Linked DNA regions of Homo sapiens: regions 1, 2, 3 and 4 are each linked to region 5. The links are contacts of gene promoters, found by promoter capture Hi-C in blood cells and fetal thymus (Javierre and others, 2016). All regions are on one chromosome and are shown on one strand. Each heading gives the region's core, a stretch centred on a gene start or on the middle of the fragment in contact. The rest is flanking DNA. Distances are from core to core; before and after follow the strand shown. Region 1 overlaps PRIM2 (DNA primase subunit 2). Region 2 overlaps PRIM2 (DNA primase subunit 2). Region 3 overlaps PRIM2 (DNA primase subunit 2). Region 4 overlaps PRIM2 (DNA primase subunit 2). Region 5 holds the start of KIAA1586.

The links. Contacts are between HindIII fragments. The CHiCAGO score rates a contact against its expected background, and 5 or more counts as called.
Region 1: a fragment that was not itself captured here is called in contact with the fragment with the promoter of KIAA1586 in region 5 in 3 of 17 cell types (activated CD4 T cells, total CD4 T cells and non-activated CD4 T cells); the score reaches 7.2 in activated CD4 T cells.
Region 2: a contact is called between a fragment that was not itself captured here and the fragment with the promoter of KIAA1586 in region 5, in 4 of 17 cell types (activated CD4 T cells, total CD8 T cells, total CD4 T cells and 1 more). The highest score is 7.2, in activated CD4 T cells.
Region 3: a fragment that was not itself captured here is called in contact with the fragment with the promoter of KIAA1586 in region 5 in 1 of 17 cell types (non-activated CD4 T cells); the score reaches 6.0 in non-activated CD4 T cells.
Region 4: a fragment that was not itself captured here is called in contact with the fragment with the promoter of KIAA1586 in region 5 in 2 of 17 cell types (total CD4 T cells and activated CD4 T cells); the score reaches 5.5 in total CD4 T cells.

The regions. Positions count from the first base shown.
Region 1 is chr6:57,385,966-57,388,665 of GRCh38, forward strand. All of the region lies in intron 7 of PRIM2 (DNA primase subunit 2), which reads left to right. Among named protein-coding and RNA genes, the nearest start is that of MIR548U, 2.8 kb to the right of the region's middle. The HindIII fragment of the contact is 913 bases long and covers 988-1,900 here.
Region 2 is chr6:57,346,440-57,349,191 of GRCh38, forward strand. All of the region lies in intron 5 of PRIM2 (DNA primase subunit 2), which reads left to right. Among named protein-coding and RNA genes, the nearest start is that of PRIM2, 30 kb to the left of the region's middle. RefSeq lists an enhancer at 516-1,016. The HindIII fragment of the contact is 8,245 bases long and covers 1-2,752 here.
Region 3 is chr6:57,419,573-57,422,272 of GRCh38, forward strand. All of the region lies in intron 7 of PRIM2 (DNA primase subunit 2), which reads left to right. Among named protein-coding and RNA genes, the nearest start is that of MIR548U, 31 kb to the left of the region's middle. The HindIII fragment of the contact is 1,528 bases long and covers 626-2,153 here.
Region 4 is chr6:57,367,474-57,370,221 of GRCh38, forward strand. The region is part of intron 5 of PRIM2 (DNA primase subunit 2); the gene reads left to right. Among named protein-coding and RNA genes, the nearest start is that of MIR548U, 21 kb to the right of the region's middle. The HindIII fragment of the contact is 525 bases long and covers 1,011-1,535 here.
Region 5 is chr6:57,045,432-57,048,169 of GRCh38, forward strand. KIAA1586 reads left to right here and starts at 1,262. Exons shown (of 4, transcript NM_020931.4): 1 at 1,262-1,345; 2 at 1,882-1,965. The coding sequence starts at 1,325. RefSeq lists a silencer at 20-314 and enhancers at 944-1,033, 1,850-2,727. The HindIII fragment of the contact is 6,924 bases long and covers 744-2,738 here.

The DNA of each region.
Region 1 (2,700 bases), core at 194-2,693, 340 kb after region 5:
GCTGCTCTGAACATTGTAGCACATATTTTGGAAAACATATTTCTGTTGGTTATGTGTTTAGGAATGGAATTGTAGGGTATTGAGTATATCTGTGTACAGCTTTAATGGATTTAGATTTACTTTAAATGGATTTATTCTGGCTGAGTGGGGTGGCTCACACCTGTAACCCTCGTCCTTTGGGAGGAGGAGGTGGGAGGATTGCTTGAGCTCAGGAGTTTGAGACCAGCCTGGGCAACATAGTGAGAATCAGTCTCTACTAAAAACAACAACAACAACAACAGCAACAACAACAACAACAACAAAATAGCCAGTCGTGGTGGCATGTGCCCGTAGTCCCAGCTACTTGGGAGGCTGGGGTGGGGGGATCACTTGAGCCTGGGAGATCAAGGCTGCAATGAGCTATAATCATGCCATTGCACCCCAGCTTGGGCGACAGAGTGATACCCTGTCTCAAAAAAAAAAAAAAAAAAAAAAGAACGAAAGAAAGAAAGAAAGAAAAGGATTTGTCCTGATTACAGGTGGGTTGTGGAGAGTTCTGGCCTTGGTGTCTTGGATTTAATAGAAGACAGACAGTGACTTGCTTTCTCCTGGGTGGTTCAGGGCCGAGCCTGGTTGAGAGGAGGTCCAGAGAACACTTTTTCTTATGTAGGAGAGTGGTGGGAGTTGTTGCCTGGGAGCCTGTCCTGACAGCTGTGGAAAGGAGCAGGAGGGAAGCGAAGGAGTTCATTTAGGGCTGTGGCGAAGTAGAAATCTAAACCTATTGCTATGGTCTCTTTATTACTGTCCTTTCCATTGAGGAAGGTTTTGACCTTGGAGTATGTAATTGAAAACTTTCAGCTTTATAAATGGAAATATTCTTGTAGGATAAGAAAAAGTACCCTAAAGTAGATTTTTTGAAAGGTATTTTGATGAGTGGTAGAGGATGAAATAAATGGTTCTGGGGGAAGTTGTAAATTGATGAGAGTTTTACCCCAGGTGACAACTGAAAGCTTATTCTTAACCTGTGACCATATGACTTTTATAATATGACTATCTAGCTTTTGAACATGGTTTAGGACTGATAAAAAATTGACATTACTTTTTCCTTTGATAGGAACTCTGTGGCCCAGAACCTTCCCTTTAAGTCCCAAGATTGTGCTAAGTATATCTCCTTTGTGTTCCCACAGCATTCTGCACACGACCAAATTACGGTGAAATTATTCTCATTATGTGTTTTCCTCCTCAATTAAAATGTAAGTTCTTTGAGAGTGAGGAATTTCTCTTAATTCAAATTTTTATCTGGTATAGCATGTGGCACATAGGGTTAGTGGTCAGTAAAATTTTATTGAACTGACAGATACCAAATAATGATATAAACTTGCTTTTGTTCACAGTTTACTGTTTATACATACTGTTAATCCCACTATAAGTCACTGAGAGAGAAAGGGGTTATAATGTGCATTATATGGATGAGGAAAATGCAGCACAGAGAGGCCAAAGTAATTTGTCTAAGATTATGTTGGCTAATAATTGCTGGAGCCCTGACTTGATCTCAGGTTTTCTGATTGTAATTCTTAGGGTCTTTTGATGGTAACTGTGCCTTTGTCAGGAGTTGTATAACCAGGTGATTTAGGTCTTCAAACTCTGATAAAATATTCAAAGGTAAGTATATTAAGGTCCAGTCACAGAGCAGGCCCAAGGGGTGAATTTGGAGCTACGGTAGAATAGATTGATAACCAGTTAGGGAAAAGAATGAGGGAAAGATAGATTTTTTTTGCTTCATATGGCAATTTTAGAAGCTATAGCCAGTTCTTTTATTTAATGGTTTATTTTTAAATAACTTTTTATTTGTTCATCCATGCATAGGTTTGGGTACTAGAGATACTACTTAACAAATTAGATGAGATTTCTTCTCTTACAAAGCTTATATTCTAGTGGGAGACAGACAATTACTGAAGAAATAAACAATAACAATATTGTAAATGACATGAAGGAGCCAGCTGAACAAATATAGAGGAAACTGCATTCCAGGCAGGAAAAGTCACTAATGCAAAGGCCCCCAAAGGGAGGAATCTTGGCCTTTTTTTTTAGAATCAAAAAGGCCAGTGTAGCTAGAGCATAGTGAGCTACGGTAGAGTGCTACCATGTGAGGCTGCAATGGCTAGGTGTAGACTCTGTGAGACTTTGAGGTAGAGTCCCAGGGTAAAGAGTTTGATTTTTTTTTAGCCTAATGTAGTTGAAAGACATTGGATGATTTTGAATAAGTGAGTGATATGATCTGATTTATGTTTTAAATAGATGACTGTGGCTGCTGCTTGAAAGCCATTTTGGAGGATAAAAAAGGAATGGAAGCGGGAGGACTAGTCTGGAAGTTTTCACATTAATCTAGATAGTGGCTTGAAATGGATTGGTTGTGGTGATATGACTGACAGAAGTCAGTGGATTTCAGTTAGTTTTTAAAGTAATATTGACATGGTGGATTGGTTGTGAGAGAAAGAGAAGAATCAGCATAATGATGATGATGATGAGAGCTTAAGCATAGTGAAAATTTAATATTTGCCAAGTGCTATTCTAAATGCTTTATATGAATTAATGCATTTAGTCTTTATGGTAACCCTATAAGGCAGGTACCATTATCACTCTCTGAGGCTTGTAGTATCTTTATACAGGTAGTGAGGAGCAGAAGCAGGATTTGAATCCATACAGTCTGGCATCAAGGTC
Region 2 (2,752 bases), core at 20-2,519, 300 kb after region 5:
CTCCCGAGTAGCTGGGATTACAGTCGCCCACCACCATGCCTGGCTAATTTTTGTATTTTTGGTAGAGACGGGGTTTCACTATATTGGTCAGGCTGGTCTTGAACTCCTGACCTTGTGACCCGCCTACCTCGGCCTCCCAAAGTGTTGGGATTACAGGCGTGAGTCACCACGCCCAGCCATGTATACATTTTTAAAAATTCCATAATCTTTATAATCTTTCCCTCTTTCCTCCAAGTTCCCTGAAAAGTTAATTCTTTTTGGCTGAAGTCTTGTGTCATGGTCTAGTTCAGAGTCTAGGTCAGATTGCCTTATCCTAGGTCTTTTGGATGAGAATAAGAACCAGGGATGTGGAGGGCAAATGGAGTTGTAAAGGTAATCATTTTGTGTTCTCAGTCTTTGAGTGGCTTAATCTGAGTTACAAAGGGAGGAGGAAGTAGTTGCGTAACAAATCCATTTGGTCCAGGCCCTGTGAATATATCCATTCTGCTACTCCCCACCCCTCTGAAGGCATACAAAGGACAACAGCACAGTTAATACCCCTATTCTGGACTTGTCTCCATTTATTCTCTGCTTGCTTCTGTTTGTTTATCTCCATGACTTTCAAATACCTTGTGCTGTACTTCGGCTATTGATACCTGCCTCCTGTCTGGCTTTGTTTCCTGTTCATCTCTGGTCAAAGTGTGCTCTCCCCATTCCAGGAGAATCCTTCTGTTATCTTGGAGCTTAATAGCCAAATATATTCCAATTCCCTTTAGTTGGTCCAAGGAATAAGGCTTCTGTATGAATATTGGAAAACCCAGAGGACTGTTTCCAGACTTGGATGGGGTCCTTGTTTTCTAAAGGAGGAATATTTATTGATGACTGTATAAGTAGTGGACTTATTAAGGTTTAGATTTATCTGGTGATATAAGGAGACTGAGGAGAGATTATCACTAATAGCTAACATTTGTAATGTGTTTGTTAAGTGCCAGGCACTTTGGTAAATACTTCACATGGGTAAAAAAATTTAACTTCTTCTTCTGTGGTAGAGACAGTTTTGCTCTGTCGCCTAGGCTGGAGTGCAGTGGTGTGATCACAGCTCACTGCAGCCTTGAACTCTTGGGCTGAAGTGATCCTCCCACCTCAGCCTCCCAAGTAGCTGGGAATACAGGCGCATGCCACCCTGCCTGGCTAATTTTTTCTTTTATAGAAATAAGTTCTTACTGTGTTGCCTAGGCTGGTCTTGAACTTCAGGCCTTAAGTGATCCTTGCAACTTGGCCTCCCATAGTGCTGGAATTACAGGTGTGAGTCACTGTGACCAGCCAGGTTTATGTAATTTAATCCTCACAACAGCTCCATGAGGAAACTGAAGCTCAGACAGGTTAAGTAACTTTCCTTAAAATTAGTCTTCTAAATATTTAGAGATGTATAAGTCACAAAGCATGTTACTAAATATATGAGTAGATTTCTTCACAGCTTAACTATTGAAATGAAGTGGAATAGATGCTGACATTTAAGGTGACAGGGCCCATCAAAAGTGCTATACAAACACAGGTGTGAGTTTAGAGATTTACATTAGTTTCGGAAATTAAAGCATTAACTATAATTTTACTGAGATGTTTCATTTTAGCTGACAGTTGTTGGCAGGAATGGAAACCAAATATATTAAATATACCATTGGTAGCTTTCTCGGTATAATATTGCCATCTCTAGGGAAAACATTATATTCATCCAACTTAGTCGTTGAGGGGTTTGTTTTCTAGCCCGTAGTTTTTCTATGCCCTTTTTGTTTTTCTTCTCTGCTACCTTTTGTTTATCTTTTTAAAAACATTTTTCAGATCACATTGTATATTTTAGTTCATGTTCAACAATTAACTCATGTATAATATTCAAAGATCAGTGTAAATCAAAATCCAGGCAGTAGGTAAAAAATATATTTTTAAAATTTTAAATTAAGTTTTATCAGGCAGTAGATTTTGTACTTGAAGTGGGAGTCATTATTTTAATAGGCCAGGAAAAGAAAAGTTATGGACTTGAGTTGGTTTTTTTTACTATCTCACAAGAGAGATGCCATAGAGGAAAGCCTACTGTTTCAAACTGAGCCTTTCACAAGGATGGCTTGTTGGTTCAGTCCAGTAGTTCTGGACTATAGGGGTTATAGTCACCCCTGCTGGATATTTTGGCCATCTTTATGGTATTTTTGGTGTTTGTAAAAATGATTGGCAAGTCCAACAGGTGTTTAGTAGACAGGAGATGGGGATGCTGGTGCATTTACAGTGCACTGAGTAGTTCTGTACAACCACAGATTTTCCCACATCCTTCCTGCCCTTTTTTTTTTTTTTTTTTTTTGAGACAGAGTCTCTCTGTTGCCAAGCTGAAGTGCAGTGGCGCGATCTCGGCTCACTGCAACCTCTGCCTCCCGGGTTCAAGCTATTATCTGCCTCAGTCTCCCAAGTAGCTGGGACTATAGGTGTGTGCCACCCCGACCAGCTAATTTTTGTATTTTTAGTAGAGACGGGTTTTCACCATTTTCGTCAGGATGGTCTTGATCTCTTGACCTGGTGATCTGCCTGCTTCGGCCTTCCAAAGTGCTGGGATTACAGACGTGAGACACCATGCCTGGCCTCCTTTTTGACTTTTTATATTCATGTGAACAACAACAGAAACCCAGAAACCAAAAAACTAAACTGTTTCTAATTATCTGAATCTACAACTAAACACTGTTCTATAAATCAACACAAAATATTTTTCCCCCATATTTTTGGTATACCC
Region 3 (2,700 bases), core at 140-2,639, 370 kb after region 5:
GCTCCAGCCAAATACTCTGAGCTAGAGACTGGGTCCAGTTCCAGCAATTCTGTTAATATATATTTACCAGACTCTGGTATGATTTTGTATGAATTTATTATAGGATTGGAGATGAGGGCAGGAGGGAGGGGTAGTATGTAGTAGTGGTTGCATTCATATTTAACCCTCGGTTTTTGAATAAAGTCTTACATTTGGGAATTTTTTTTTAATAAATAAAATGTCTTGCTAATGTAAGTGTTACTCCCACCAATATAGAAGACAGCACTCAAATTCTCATTCTCTTTTGTAACCAGATCATAAGCATATGACTTATACTTCGTTGATTAGACTCACCTCTCACAGGACTTTGATTTGGAACTGAGGAAACAGAACAGGACTTTGATTTGGAACTGAGGAAACAGAATCTTCATCGAGCTTTTGTGTTTGGTGGTGGCAGTGGTGGATGTGAGCAGAGACTTTCTGCCTTTGGTGGCAGCAGTGTCTTTTTGGTGGTTGCTAGATTGATTTCCCACAGTGGGAGTGGTTTTCTTTAGTACTCTGTGGGATGCTAAACAGCAGTGATGGCCATTTTCTATTAATAATTAGTCCTGTTTTAGAACTAATTAGTTCCTCTTTTGAGCCTGGAAGCTTAACTTTAAGAATAGTTTTTTGGCCAGGCACAGTGGCTCGTGCCTGTAATCTCAGCACTTTGGGAGGCCAAGGCGGGTAGATCACGAGGTCAGGGGTTCAAGACCAATGTGACCAACGTGGTGAAACCCTGTCTCTACTAAAAATACAAAAATTAGCTGGGTGTGGTGGCGTGCACCTGTAATCCCAGCTACTCAGGAGGCTGAGGCAGGAGAATCCCTTGAACCCAGAAGGCGGAGGTTGCGGTGAGCTGAGATTGCACCATTGCACTCCAGCCTGGGTGACAGAGGGAGACTCCATCTCAAAAAAAAAGAATAATATTTCATCTTCCCAACAATTCTGTGAGCTTCCTAGTAGCCTTTTAATAAACTCATTTTCTGCTAGTCAGCTTCTTCCATGTTCAGCTAACAATCTTAGCTGGTCCTGGGTTGATTAGAAGATAAGGCAGCAAAATGAAGACAGAGGCTTTTTGATATCTGCCAGGATGGCTAAGAATTGATCCAAAATCCATGGGGACTTGGTATCAGATTGTATTTTGGGGTGAATTGGAGGAGGAAGGAAAATAACTATGTTGATAGTAGGTCTGTTTGGATGTTGGAGGGTATGGAACAATGATTTTAGTTTTGGACATGTTTACTTTGAGATGCCATAGAAATATTCACTTGTGGAGATATCTGGCATGTAATTGGAAATGTAATTCTAGCATTCAGAAAAGAGATCAGGGATAGTAGTGACAGTTATTCAAGGTTGCATTGAAATTGGATTAGAGTACTAAGGGTAGCAGCATGAAATGGGGAGAAAGGAGAGGCTTTTCACAATTACAGGGCAGATGGTGGAAGGAGACAGTGAAGAAATCTGAAAACGAATCTTCTAGAAGGATGGAAGAGCACTCAGAGAAGCTCAAAGATGGTAGACCAAGGAGCAGATAGTCAGGAGTATGAAGACTGAGAAGAGGCCATTGTATTTAGTGATTTTCAAGAAAGTCATAGAAAATAGAACAAAACCTTACAGTGGTGAATAAAGGACTAAAGTAATATCTGGAACAAAAGAGATTAAATAAAATTTGAGTCAAAAATTTTATTAGACATATTTAGAGCCCAAATCACAAAATAAAGTTTGAAACCAGAGACACAACCCCTATCTTTTTCCTTAACAGATTTTTATCAGGCTAGTTGTTAAGTTTGTCTATTTGAGTAATGGCACTGATATATCAAATTCTTTTGTTTTAATGAAGCAACAGCTCTCTAGTATGCAAAACTTGGGAAAATATTTTGCTTTACAATTTTAGTGTTCATTAAGCCTTATTATGTAAGCTGTAAGCAAATGTTAGAGAATTTTAAATGTTTGTGACATCTGTGTTTTTATTGTGAATGTGAGTTTTCTTTTGTAAGTATTACAATGATCATTGTTAACAGTTTGACCTTGCTTTACATTTTTGCCAGACTATTCAGTGATAGCTATTTGCATGCTGTCTTTCCTTTTATTTCAGCTTTCCATCCCACTTCCTCTTATGTTGCCAAATGAGAAGCTTGACTATTGGTGGTTAGAGTCTCTGCCACTCAAGATTTTCATTTTTCTGTATTTTGAAGTACTGTCTTTGTATGCTTTTCTTTTCTCCATTCAAAGAGCAGTCTCTTTACATTTGATATTCTGATAGAATTTATCTGCTGAAAATCAAAGTCTGTGCTCCTTGAATTCTGGCTTCAAAATAATCATCTAGAATAGATGTAAGATACTAGAACCAGATGAAAGATTCAAAAGATGTCAGTCTTAATTTATAAGTTTATTATCTACAAGACTGGATCTTGACTGTACCAGTCTTAAAAATATATCTTGCATTATAATTTGAGCTATGACATTTCATCAAACGTACAGTTTAAATTTATAGAACTCTTTTTTTTGCATTAATTTATGTAGTCAAATAGAAGACATTAAATTCAAAAGTATTTCTTTTCTTTCTTTTTTTTTTTTTTGAGATGGAGTCTCTCTCAGTCGCCCAGGCTGGAATGCAATGGTGTGATCTCGGCTCACTGCAACCTCTGCCTCCTGGATCAAGTAATTCTCCCACCTCAG
Region 4 (2,748 bases), core at 23-2,522, 320 kb after region 5:
CAAACCTAAAACAACAATTCCAAAACCTAACATTAAAACTTAAAATCAAAACTTAATTCTAAAACTTAAAACAGTACCCATCTTATTATATCTCACACTTTCGAGGGTTAGGGATTCAGAATGGGCTTACAGGGCAATTGTTCTGTTCCACATAGTATTATATATGGGCTTTCTTAGTTGACAACTAGTCTGGTCTAGGATGTCTAAGACAGCTTTACTCACATGCTTGTGCATATGTGAGGACTTCTAAAAGGCTGGACTCTGCTGGACGCCTTTCCATGTGATCCCTCAAACGAGGTGGTTGGACTTCTTACTTCATGATCTAGGACTCCAAGTGAACAAGGCAGAATCTGCCAGTCCTCTCAAAAAATAGGCCTGGGCCTGGCAGGGCATCACTCGTTCCTGTCAAAGTAGTCACAGGCCAGGCCAGATTCAAGGGGAGGGCAAATAGATCTTAGCTCTCAACGGAGGATGTGTCAAAGACTTTGCAGCCATCTTTAATCCCCATGTACTCCAGATTGATGATTACATCACAGTGCATTTGGGAAACAAATTGCCCTTTATAATCACAGTATTTGCTACCAATATAGAACCTATATTTATTTGAAATGATAATAACAGTATTAAAAATTATGATATTTGCTTTCAGCATTTGATCTATTCACAGTTTTAATTTCTTTATAAATGAAATGATTCCTAATTGTTTTATATATATCATATATATATCATACATTTATTTTAGAAAAGCGGATTCTTTTCCTGGGATATGCTGTTTAGACCAGTGATGTATGTCGAACCACTAATGGACCTTAAAAAAAAACATACAGCTCAGGGCTTCAGTCTGTAGGTCTGGGTGGCACCAGGAATCTGTAATTTTAAAAAGCTTCACTGGCAAGTAATGTACATACTTACTTAATGACCAGGGTCTAAGAAAGCTCTGTAGATTCAAATAGAAACTATCCAAACTATTTATAAATGTGATTGAGTATTGTTGATTGGAAGCTTATAGAAGCTTAAATCTCTGGGAAGCCTTATTTATATCTTTACTTTTGATGCCAGTGTACTAGACTAGTGGTTCCAACATGGCATCCCCAAGATGATCATTTGGGAATGTGGGAAAGAAATAAATAATACAACATATATTTTTAGTCTCATCCGTTCCACATTTTGGGGATGGGTATGGCATGTTTTAAGTGCAGAATGTACAGTAATACATACATATAATTTATAAATAAATATACATATATTGGAAGTATGTGCTGAAAAAACTTCATTGATGACAATGTGTGATGCAAAGATGAAGGTCACTGTTCCAGTCAGTTTAGTTTATGCATTGGTAACGACCCCCAAACCTCAGTGACTTATAGAAAGGTTTGTTCCTTGTTCATATTCTGTGTCTTCATGGGCCAGCTACAACCCTGCTGTGTGTCATTTTGTCCCTGGACTCAGGCAGATCGAGTAGGCTCTGTATACCGGAACTTCACCAGTTGCTGCGGCAAAAGGAGGAGAGAACTGGGTAAAATACATGCTCAGAAAGCTTTTGCTTAGGAATAACACACGTCACTTCCACTCACATTTCACTGGCCAAAGCAAGTCACTTGGCTACACTTTAGTTCAGCAGGTAGGGGGTGTATAATTCTCCCTCAGTGAGGGACTCAGTACAGGGTGAATAGCGATACAGTCTACACAGACATCCACTACCCTTCTATTTACTGTGTAGAGTATTTGCCTCTCTAGAGCTGCTCCTTAATCTGCTTTCAGGATTTCAACAGAGTGAAATTGCCTCTCTCAGTTCCTGGTTTGATGAAGAATATAAAAAAGAAAAAGACACACAGCCAAAATCCTTAATTCTGTTAGCAAGGCAGCATATAAAACAACATAATTTTGGAATATGGAAATATAACTTTGCCAAAACAGTTAAAACCCAGTGTAATTTTTACTTGATAAAAAACTATACCGTTATACCATGTGCTACCATTTGAAACATTCAGGTACTGACTGTTGAGTGGGTGGATATGAATAATAGGGATTGAGATGTGGGGAATTATGAGTAGTAGTGGCAAGAGCAGAACTTCAAAGCTAGAATGTTCAGAGTCTCTGTTGATTGGACATTAATCAGAGTGAAGGTTGAGCATCTCTAAAATAGTAATGTAAGTCACTCAAAAAATGTGTGTTTCATGTTGAGCCATTTGTTTATACACCTCTTTTTAGGAGGATGTTTACTTTGTGAAGCATACTACACCTTGATTATAAGATGTTGCAGTGATAACCTAGCTGGCTTTTATCAGTTATTTTGAATTCCCCTATACACCAAGACCTGTGTTAGTTTAATGAAATGACAAGTTTATAGAAACTGCATTAGTTGCAGTAAACATTTCACTTTATTACTTGAGGAAAAAGCCTGAAATACAGAAACTAATCAAAATGTAAATTACAGGTAGTAACAACAAGTGTTTACCATGTACTAAGGGTGTGCTGTATGTTAGGCCTATTGTACACACTTTACATACTTTATTTAATCCCAAGAAAAGCTACATGAGATAGGTATGATTTTCTTCATTTTATCCCTGAAGAAACTAAGGTGTAAAGAGGTTAACTAACCTGTTTAAGATTCAAAGACAGGTTTCTATGATTTTGAAAACTATTCTCTCTACTACTTTACTCTGCTTTTATAATTGTTCCACTCTATCTGTTTTTACTTGTATTCTTTGTTAGTAGAAGTAGGAAGCCATTTAATCTTGTCTTGCT
Region 5 (2,738 bases), core at 12-2,511:
GCTACACGGAGGAAGGGGTTTCTGAGCACAATACTCTGTGTGTGTTAACTTTGTAGTTTTGAAGTTAACAAGACCCTGGGCTCGCTATGCAGTCCGTATGTGATGTTGAACCCTTTACACACAGCACTAGACGGTTTTGAACCTATCAAAACACTGCTTCACTTAAATTTCACCAACTCCTTAAAATCCTAGTAAGTCTATGTTTTCCTTTGTTCCTATGTTCTCCTTTTCTCCCACTTTGTGGGTTGTCTGTTTACTCTGCTGATTATTTTTTTTGCTGTGCAGAAGCTTTTTAGTTTAATTAAGTTCAGTCTATTTATCTTTGTTTCTGTTGCATTTGCTTTTGGGTTCTTCATCGCGAAGTCTTTGCCTAAGCCAATGTCTAGAAGGTATTTTTCCGGTGTTATCTTGAGCAATTTTTATGACTTCGGGTCTTAGATTTAAGTCTTTGATGCATCTTGAGTTGATTTTTGTATAAGGTGAGAGATGAGGATCCAGTTTAATTCTTCTACATGTGGGTCACCAATTATCCCAGCACCATTTGTTGAAAAGGGTGTCCTTTCCCCACTTTATGTTTTTGTTTGCTTTGCTGAAGATCAGTTGGCTAATCAGATACCTCATAGCTCCTTTGTTGTATAATTTTGTGCATTGTAGATCAGGGTCAAAATGATAAAGGTGATTTTCTGGGACTACAGACTTGTCAATAACAGGTGGTCCTAGGCTGATAGAGGTAAACAAATAAAAGCTTTAAAAGAATATTCTCTGTTAAAATTTGCTTTCATAAATTTCATGTTTAAAATCATTTGTGAATAAATGTTAAAATAAAAAGGTGAGCCACGATTTTGGTAAGGCAATTTCTGAGCAAATCACACACAATTTTTTTTCATTCCCATTGATCTATTACATAGACGAATATTTGGTTGTGAAAAAGTGAGAGAAAGAACTCGGCTATTTTATTATAGTAGAGCAACACCGAAGGGAGACGACTTCGCTGTAGCTCAGAGTCTTTTTCCATTCTTCACCCACGCGCGGGGCAGTCGCGCGGCGCGGTCGCGCGGCGGGTAGGAACTACCATCCCAGCATCCTCTGCGGCGCGGGGAAGGAAGCCCGGGAATGAGAGAAAGAGGCTCCGGGGAGATAGCGGACCAGTGAGGGCTGCCCCTCTTTTGAAGCGGTTTTCGTCTCTTTCCGCCAGTGGCCTCCCAGCTCACGCAGGGGCGGGTCCCGGTAGCGCGAGGCGGTGCAGGGCGGGAAGGGGAGTGGTGGCGGCTGCGGCAGTAGGGACAGCAGGAGCAGTGGTGCTGTCAGCGCGGCCGTCGGAGACATGGGAGACCCGGGGTCGGAAGTGAGTAGTCGAGTGAGGGTCCTGGCGTTCTCAGAGGCGAACCGCGAAGGGTTTGTGTTTTCTGCGGTCTGAGGCCTGGTGCTCCGTCGCAGCCTCGGGGCGATACCTCTTCAGTGTCTTGGGCCGAGCCCAGCTCTGGGGCCTGGTGCGTGTCTGAGCGAGGAACCCGCAGCAACAATGGCCGCCCGGCCCCCCGCACGGGCCCTGGCGTTCGTTGTGGCCGCGGCTGGGCCAGTGGGAGCGACGTTTTAAGGCAGGATTGCCCTTCGGTGTTGAGCTTGCGTTCCTCCTGGAGTAGATAAGGGGAATTGTGAGAGGCTGGTAACTAACGCGTTTTCAGCGTTGGGTCCCTGCAGCTCCGCACACTCTGTGGCAAGAGCCAGAGCTCGAGTTCCGTTCCTAGTCGGGTTTCCGTGAAATTGTGCTCAGTTCGTTTTCCTCAAGAGCTCTCTGTCTTTAATTGTTCCTTTCGGAAACGCTCTCTTCCTACACGAATGTGGCTGAACAGATAAGCATGTTTTGGCTTGTTTTTATAGATAATAGAATCTGTCCCTCCAGCTGGCCCTGAGGCATCTGAGTCAACAACGGATGAAAATGAAGACGACATTCAGTTTGTCAGTGTAAGTAGCAATGATGATTGGGGTTTTCCCAGAGTAAAAGACTATGGTGGGCCATTATGTAATGTTACCTCACCTGGTCATTTAATGTTCATGAGTGTCTAATACATACTAGACACTGGAGCATGGCGCAGGATTGGGAAATTTACCAAAAGAGCTATCTGAGCCACCCCCGTAGCCATCACAAAGAGCACGTCCTAAAGAACGTGCTGTACACTTAATCTCGCCCCCTGCCTTTCATTTAAACTTAAGATAAAAACGCTGGTGTCTAAAACGCTGTTTTGAAATGGAGCAAGAGTAACTTCTAAAGGCGACACGGAGGAAGGAGCTGCTAATGATGAGCAAGGACGTAGAAAACAGGAAGGGTTGTGAGAGCCCAGAATCTTAGCGTTATGGTGCTTCTAACATGAAGGCAAATAGCTTGAAGATTTCTCTAACCTCTGAGATCATCATGTTACGGCATAGTACAGTTGATGCTCATAATGAAGAATCCTACATCACTGGGAACATGCTCTATTTTTCTGAGTTTGTTCCCTTTGAGACAGTAGTTTTCAAGCCTTAGTAAGTATAAACAGGCAGATTCCTGGGCCCCACTGCAGACCTACCGAATCAGAATTTCCAGGCGGGGGCCTAGGAATCTTCATTTTCAGACAAGTGCAGGGACATAAGGATTTCTGAGCACACTTTGGACAGAATGGGTTTCTAAAGCAGAAGGGAGTGTTTTATGATATATTTTGGGGTGATTTTCATCCATAATTGTTGGAGTTTTAGAAAGG